Regions from separate parts of the Homo sapiens genome. Here region 1 is linked to region 2. The links are contacts of gene promoters, found by promoter capture Hi-C in blood cells and fetal thymus (Javierre and others, 2016). All regions are on one chromosome and are shown on one strand. Each heading gives the region's core, a stretch centred on a gene start or on the middle of the fragment in contact. The rest is flanking DNA. Distances are from core to core; before and after follow the strand shown. Region 1 has its middle 140 kb from the start of LINC01972. Region 2 holds the start of FAM43A (family with sequence similarity 43 member A).

Region 1 (3,806 bases), core at 1,271-3,770, 220 kb after region 2:
ATAATATAGTAGACATGTTTAAAGACATTCTCAGCAAATAAATAATGAATTTGATAAGTTTTCTCTCAGCAATCAAAAAAATCAATGAAGTTAATCACCTGAAATCAGAGTTAAATATCCCAGAAAAAAATCTAAACTATTTTTAACACTATCTGAGCTAGCAACTTTGGTCAATTATAAAATGGTTTAGATTCTTGCAAACATACATACAACAATTTTAGACAAAGTGATCATTAAAACAAATAGAAACTCTTAAGTTATGGAAATTTTATTAGAAAATTATGAATACATAAAAGATATTCTACTAATTATGAGACATTTTCAATTAAGCCACCAAACAATTGCTTATAGAATACAAGATGTTTTAATAATATCAAAAACCAACTGATTCAACATTTGTTAAATTCCAAGTACTTTTCTTTAGCTTTGTAAAATCGTACACTATAGAAGATACTGCCTGATATGGTTTGGCTCTGTGTCCCCACTCAAATCTCATCTTGTAGCTCCCACAATTCCCACATGTTATGGGAGGGACTGGGTGGATGATTAAATCACGGGGGTGGGTCTTTCCCATGATGTTCTGATGATAGTGAATGGGTCTCATGAGATCTGATGGTTTTAAAAACAGGAGTGTCCCTGCACAAGCTCTCTTTCTTTGCCTGCTGCCATCCATGTAAGACGTGACTTGCTCCTCCTTGCCTTCCACCATGATTGTGAGGCCTCCTCAGTCACATGGAACTGCAAGTCCATTAAACCCTTTTTCCTGTATAAATTACCCAGTCTTGGGCACATTTTTATCAACAGCATGAAAACAGACTAATACACTGCTCAATTAATTTTTTGTGTACAAGTTGTCTGAAAAGACTCTCAAATTTACAAAGAAATGTCAATTTACGCCCTACAAAACCAAATTCATGGTGTAGGTATCTTTTGTATCTGTCAAATAAGAATTTCAGCTAAGCATGAAAATTTAGTTTCTAGCATGATAGACAGTGCTCCAGCTATGTTAGATTAAAAATCCAGATTCACTGGAATTCTAAAACAAGAGGCCAATGTTTTCATTTATGAAAATATTTTTCTGTAGCCTTCTAAAGAAGCGTCTATGGGGAGAGTCATACATAGAGGTGTTCTAACCATTCAGTACACATGTGCAAATGTGTGAATTATTGCCAGTTTATGGAAAGGACTAAAAATTAAAAGACAGTAAATTGAATGATCTTGTGTTCTTTACCAATGTCTATAGGTTGAATGGTGGAAGAATTTTAGAAGGATTTGCTGTGCTAATTCCAATTCAAAAATTTTCTTTAACAAAAAGCAATGCTTGCTAAACACTAAATCATCAAAGACAAAATATAGCATTATCACACTGCATATGAATGAGTTAAATTTGAAAGGAAAAGAAAAGCTTATTTGTTACCTAGTTAGTCAGGTATAAAAATTTATGCTAAAATTGATGATAATTTTTACAATAAATATCAATAATAATGATTGTGTATATTTCTAACATGAAGATTTTAATTGAAAGCAATAGCATAATTTAAGTTGACTGCAAAAACTACACGAAAATTTGAAGTATGGGCTGTTGGCATGCTTTGTAGGTAAATTAGTTACTTTTCAATATATGCAATATTTCTTTGAATTCTGTGCTAATAATACTAAGTTGTTCCAGGAGTTAGAGTCATTTAACTCAGACAGAAGTAATTTTGAAACTAATATGTTTTTGCTTCAAAGTTACATTAATTCTTCAAAAAAAGATGAACCAGTTTTTTGATGTAAATATGAATATTAAAGAAAAGTGAATTTTTGATATTTGATTCCATTACTGATAAATTTGTTTTCTTTTTTCTTTATTAACTCTTATTTTAAGTTGAGAGTTACATGTGCAGGTTTGTTATACAGGTAAATTTGCGTCTGGGGGTTTGTTGTACAGATTATTTTTTCACCCATGTATTAAGCCTAATACTCACTGTTATTTTTCCTGATCCTTTCCCTCCTCCCACCGTCCACCCTCCAATAGACCCCAGTGTGTGTTGTTCCCCTCTATGTGTCTATGTGTTCTCATCATTTAGCTCTCGCTTATAAGAAAGAACACGTGGTATTTGGTTTTCTGTTCCTGCATTATTTTTCTAAGGATAATGGCCTCCTACTCCATCCATGTTCCTGCAAAGAACATGATCTTGTTCTTCTTCATGGCTGCATAGTACTCCATGGTGTATATGTACCACATTTTCTTTATCCAGTCTACAATTGATGAGCATTTAGGTTGATTCCATGTCTGCTATTGTGAATAGTGCTGCAATGAATATATGTGTGCATATGTCTTTATAATAGAACAATTTACACTCTCTTAGGTATATACCCAGTAATGGGATTTTGGGATCTTGTAAGTATATTTGAAACAACTTGAATATGTGAGTCTCTGTAAACTTTATGAAATCTAAATACAGATCAAATATTTCCAGGGAAAATTTAGTGCCTAAATTAAGATGTGCTCTAAACATAAAATACACAGTGGATATTCATGACTTTGTTTCAAAAAAAGCAAAATATCTCATCATTAATTTTTTATATTGAGTACATACTGGAATAATAATATTTTGGATCTATTGAATTAAGTGTGTTGTTAAAATTAATTTCTTCTGTTTATTTTTGTTTTCTTAATGTGGCCATCAGAAAACTTAAACTCACATCTGCATCTCATATTCCCGTTCTATTGGATAGCACTAGAGTATGCATCCTTCACTGGGGCTTGTGTCTGAATAGCTACAATATATATTACCACTTGTACCATGCCAGAGATTGTGCTAAGAGCTTCACAAACATATTTAACCTCAAAACAACTCAACCTCAAAACCACACACATTTAACCACAAAACAACAATGAGGTAAGTTTACTGATAGGAAAATTGAGGCTCAAAGATGTTAGGTAATTTGCCCAGGGTCACACATCCAGTAAGTACAACCAGACTTCCAACTCAGAATCCCCAAATCTATGCCTTTAGTCAGAACTGTGGCATCCATTACTCGCCCACTATTGGTGCTTCCATGCAGGAATTCCTTCTCTGCATTTCTCAGGAAATGTATGTTTCCCAAATAGTAAGAAAAATCAATCAAGGAATTGAGAAAATAGAAAAAAAGTATTATAATTCTTTTTTGAGAATCAAAGATCAACAATTAACATAGAAATATTCCTGGTCAAAGGCATCTGCTGATGTCATGTCAAAAGCAAGAGCAAGAAACATTGACACACGAAGTTCAAGGCTAAGGTCAAAATTTCCTGGAACAGGGACAGGAGCACACAGAAGAGAAGTGGCCACAATCTCACTGGCCAGTCTTGCCTGTAGCTACCGTCTTGTCATCAACGTGTGTTCCTGGATTTTCTGCTGCAAACAGTGAGTCACTCCTCCAAATACAATAACTATTACTGTGTTTATATTATAGTAAACATTATGCAAATTCTATGAATGGTATTCAGAGAAAGAACAAGTTTTGGAAACAAAGAAAGTCTTTGAATTGGCAATTCCCACAGATGATTCTGAGAGGCCCTGTTAACCTTGCGAGGAAATCAGATGTTACATTAGTCAATACTACCCAGTGAGGTTCACTGGTGATTTCCAGCATTTGAATATTTCCAGGAAGCTTTAGTTTTTTACACCTACTACCAAAGTGTAAATGCTTTATAAATATTACCAAATACAAATATTTTACAAAGGCTACCAAACTTAATATTTCTTCTTATTTGTTAAATAAAAATTTTTAGATATCCATAGTAATGAAGAAAGAGCATGAAGAATGTTGGAGAATCT
Region 2 (3,673 bases), core at 887-3,386:
ACACAATCAGGAAGGTTTATTCTTTGATTGTTACAAGCTCCATCTTAATTACTACATGTGTATGCATTTTCTTTCTTTCTTTCTTTCTTTTTTTTTGAGACGGTCTCACTGTGTCATCCAGGCTGGAGTGCAGTGGCGCGATCTCGGCTTACTGCAACCTCCGCCTCCCGGGTTCAAGGGATTCTCCTGCCTCAACTTCCCAAGTAGCTGGAATTACAGGCGTGCACCACCATGCCCAGCTAATTTTTGTATTTTTAGTAGAGATAGAGTTTTGCCATGTTGGCCAGGCTGGTCTTGAACTCCTGACCTCAAGTGATCCACCCGCCTCAGCCTCCCAAAATGCTGGGATTACAGGCGTGAGCCACCGCGCCTGGCCTTATGCATGCATTTTCATGCTTCTGTAATTTTGCTACCCTCTATACCCATAAAGCCCTTCAGTCTTTTCCTATTTGGATAAATTCTGTTTATCTTTCAAAGGTCACCACCTCCATGAAGCCTTTTCTGATTTTCCTAGTCACAATGAATGCTTTCTTCCTCCAGCTTCTCATAGTGCTTTGAGTCTTTCTCATAGCATTTAGCCCACTCTGTCTTCTTGTCCACATGCATATCTTGCTCATTAATTCTAGTTACTGAGTGCCTATTTGTACCATATTGGGGATACAGGGTACTTGCAGAGAACCCACAGTCCAGTGGAAACCCAGAGTTGGGTAGAGTTTACAACCTTCATTGGACTAGGAGGCAGGAATCCCGTCTGCTCCTAGCTCAGGGCCGGGCACCAAAAGGTAGTCAGAAAAGTAACTTAAATGGAAACTCAGCAAAGTAACTTAAATGGAAACTCAGCATCAACGACTCTGAGAAAATTGAGTTAGATTTCAAAGGAAGGTTAAAAGTTGGCAAAGGTAGAGGGTGGGCAGGGGTCAGTTTTATTTTGTTGGAATATCCCAAGGGAATTTCCAGGTATGGTTGCAGTGACTCTGGCATGAAGACCTGGCGTGGAAGCCAGAGACATCAAAGATCCCCAGGGGACTGGGATGGTGGGAAGGGATCACTGTCCTCCTCCAGGACCAGGCTGGGAGTTTGATGCAGGATCATTCGGACATTGATCCCACTCCAGCCATACGTCTTTTTGCTTTGACTGACCATACCATAGAGGCAAGCAGGCTGTTTCAAGGGCCCAGAAATGAGTTACTGGCTAAGGGTCAAGCCGGTCAGAAGACAACTACACTGTCCAGTTGGCACATGATAAAAGCAATACTGATGCAATTATCACTCCCATTGGAGGGTGGCCTGGCATTATTTGTCACTTAAATAAAAAACGTCATTTGAATTTTTACTAGGAATTCTCATCCAAAATATGTCAATGATAGAATGAAACCGCATGACCGGCTTGCCAAAGTAAACTAAGTCCTAACGACACACGAGCATTAGAAATTGTGTGTATCTCAGAAAACTGCTCTACCCTGAGGCCTGACAGCAGGAGGGGGTCTTGCCGGGGTTCGGACGGGGAAAAGCCTTATTCATTGACGGTATTCTACAGTAGTCACCCCAATCATGTTACCACTCACCTCACTTTACACTGTCTGCTGCTTACCTGTGAATACGAGCTCAAGATAGTGAGAGATAAGCCTTGGTGTTTTCTGTGCCTCTCTCTTTTCTTTAATGGAATACAATTCTGAAAATAATATTAAACAGCACCCAGTCATTCTCAGAAAGCCGTCACACAAGGAAGAAACCACTATTTTCCCAAACTTTTTGTACAGGAAATTATAATCTGTAATCTCATCTTCTGCCACCTCCCTCAGAAGTTTCGATCTAGACATACATGTATTCAGTGAGTGGCAATTCAGCCTGGGGGGTGGAGTGTCAGGATTCAAATCTTTTTGCTGCGGGGTAACCCCAGGTCCCAGTGATTTCCATAGACAAAAGAGATGCTGGTAAATTTGGGATGTAATTGGAGGATTGGACCGGTCTCCCCGCTCCCTCGACCAATGGCTGTCACGCGGTCCCTTTAAGAAACCAGGAATCCGCCCGGAGTCGGAGCCCAAAACAGATCCTCTTCTCTGCTCCTCCCCTGTCCCCGCGCGGCGAATGGTTCGCGCCGGCCTATATTTACCCGAGATCTTCCTCCCGGACGGCAAGGATGTGAGGCAGGCGAGCCGGACGCCGCTCGCAGCACCGGAGAGGGCGCACTGCAAAGGCGGGCAGCAGACCGTGGAGAGCCCGGGAGCGGAGCTGGACACCGCCTCGGAGGGAAGAAATGAGGTAGCGGCGGTTCCCGGACCCGGCCATGCCCGTCCCCTGTTCTCGGAGCCCAGCGCCGTCTCGGCCAGGCCAGCCCGGACACTGAGCGGGCCGAGCGCGAGTCCCCGGCGTCCGGCGGAGCGAAGATGCAGTGAGTCCCCGCGGGACTGCTGCGCGGGGCCCGCCGCGGCCAGCCGGACCCAGCATCCGACCGCACTTTGGGCGAGCTGCTGACTTGAGACCAGCCCAAACGGGGGGCTTTCCATCTCCAGCACCCCTCGGAGGTGGGGAGCACCGGCCCCTAGGCACACTCGCTGTAGAGTTTCCGCGGGTTTTGGCCCCAGTCCTGAGGGTTGTGTGTGTTAGGGGACCCACCTCACGTTCGCCGAGGAGTTCCTGCATATTCTTGCACCATCCCGGGTGCTGTTGCTGGGGCTCTCTTTATTTGCACGCGCGCTTCTAGCTTTTTTCCTGACATTTTCCACTCTACGCTCGTTCTTTCTCCCTTGCATTTTGTTGCTTGCCTGAGACTCTTTGCTCTCGCCCTTGCCCAGGCTGGGGTAATTCTGTGTGCGCGCGTGTCTCCCCCGCACCAACCTTTTTTGCACACTCGAAGCTGAATATTTTCTTTTTTAGAGAATTTACCCGCACCTCCTGCGGGGTTCCTAAGCACTCTCTCTGCTCCCCTCCCCCCAACTCCCTACCACAGGGCCGCTCCCAGTAGTTTTATTCTTCGATCTTGCCCGGGCCGAGCCTGGCAGGGGCCGGTGGCTCAGCGGGCCTCGCACCCGGCGCTCCGCCGCCGCCGCCGCCCAGCTGCGCCGGGGCGCCCTCCGGAGATGCTGCCGTGGAAGAAGCACAAGTTCGAGCTGCTGGCCGAGGCGCCGCCGCGGCAGGCGTCCAAGCCCAAGGGCTACGCTGTGAGCCTGCACTACTCGGCGCTCAGCTCGCTGGCGCGGGCGTGCCCCGAAGGCGCGCTTAGCCGGGTGGGCAGCATGTTCCGCTCCAAGCGCAAGAAGCTGCACATCACTAGCGAGGACCCAACTTACACCGTGCTCTACCTGGGCAATGCCACCACCATCCAGGCGCGCGGCGACGGCTGCACCGACCTTGCTGTGGGCAAGATCTGGAGCAAGAGCGAGGCGGGCCGTCAGGGCACCAAGATGAAGCTGACGGTGAGTGCGCAGGGTATCCGCATGGTGCACGCCGAGGAGCGCGCGCTGCGCCGCCCGGGCCACCTCTACCTGCTGCACCGCGTCACCTACTGCGTGGCCGACGCGCGGCTGCCCAAGGTCTTCGCCTGGGTGTACCGGCACGAGCTGAAGCACAAGGCCGTGATGCTGCGCTGCCACGCCGTGCTGGTGTCCAAGCCCGAAAAGGCGCAGGCCATGGCCCTGCTGCTCTACCAGACGTCGGCCAACGCGCTGGCGGA

The links. Contacts are between HindIII fragments. The CHiCAGO score rates a contact against its expected background, and 5 or more counts as called.
Region 1: a fragment that was not itself captured here is called in contact with the fragment with the promoter of FAM43A in region 2 in 1 of 17 cell types (naive B cells); the score reaches 6.6 in naive B cells.

The regions. Positions count from the first base shown.
Region 1 is chr3:194,903,007-194,906,812 of GRCh38, forward strand. No RefSeq gene overlaps it. Among named protein-coding and RNA genes, the nearest start is that of LINC01972, 140 kb to the left of the region's middle. The HindIII fragment of the contact is 2,234 bases long and covers 1,404-3,637 here.
Region 2 is chr3:194,683,747-194,687,419 of GRCh38, forward strand. It overlaps FAM43A (family with sequence similarity 43 member A), which reads left to right and starts at 2,137. Exons shown (of 1, transcript NM_153690.5): 1 at 2,137-3,673. The coding sequence starts at 3,081. It overlaps LOC124909474, which reads right to left and starts at 3,163. Exons shown (of 3, transcript XM_047449428.1): 1 at 2,114-3,163; 2 at 1,592-1,672. The coding sequence starts at 2,507. RefSeq lists enhancers at 1,867-2,226, 2,978-3,483, 3,484-3,673 and a silencer at 2,967-3,156. The HindIII fragment of the contact is 4,459 bases long and covers 1-3,673 here.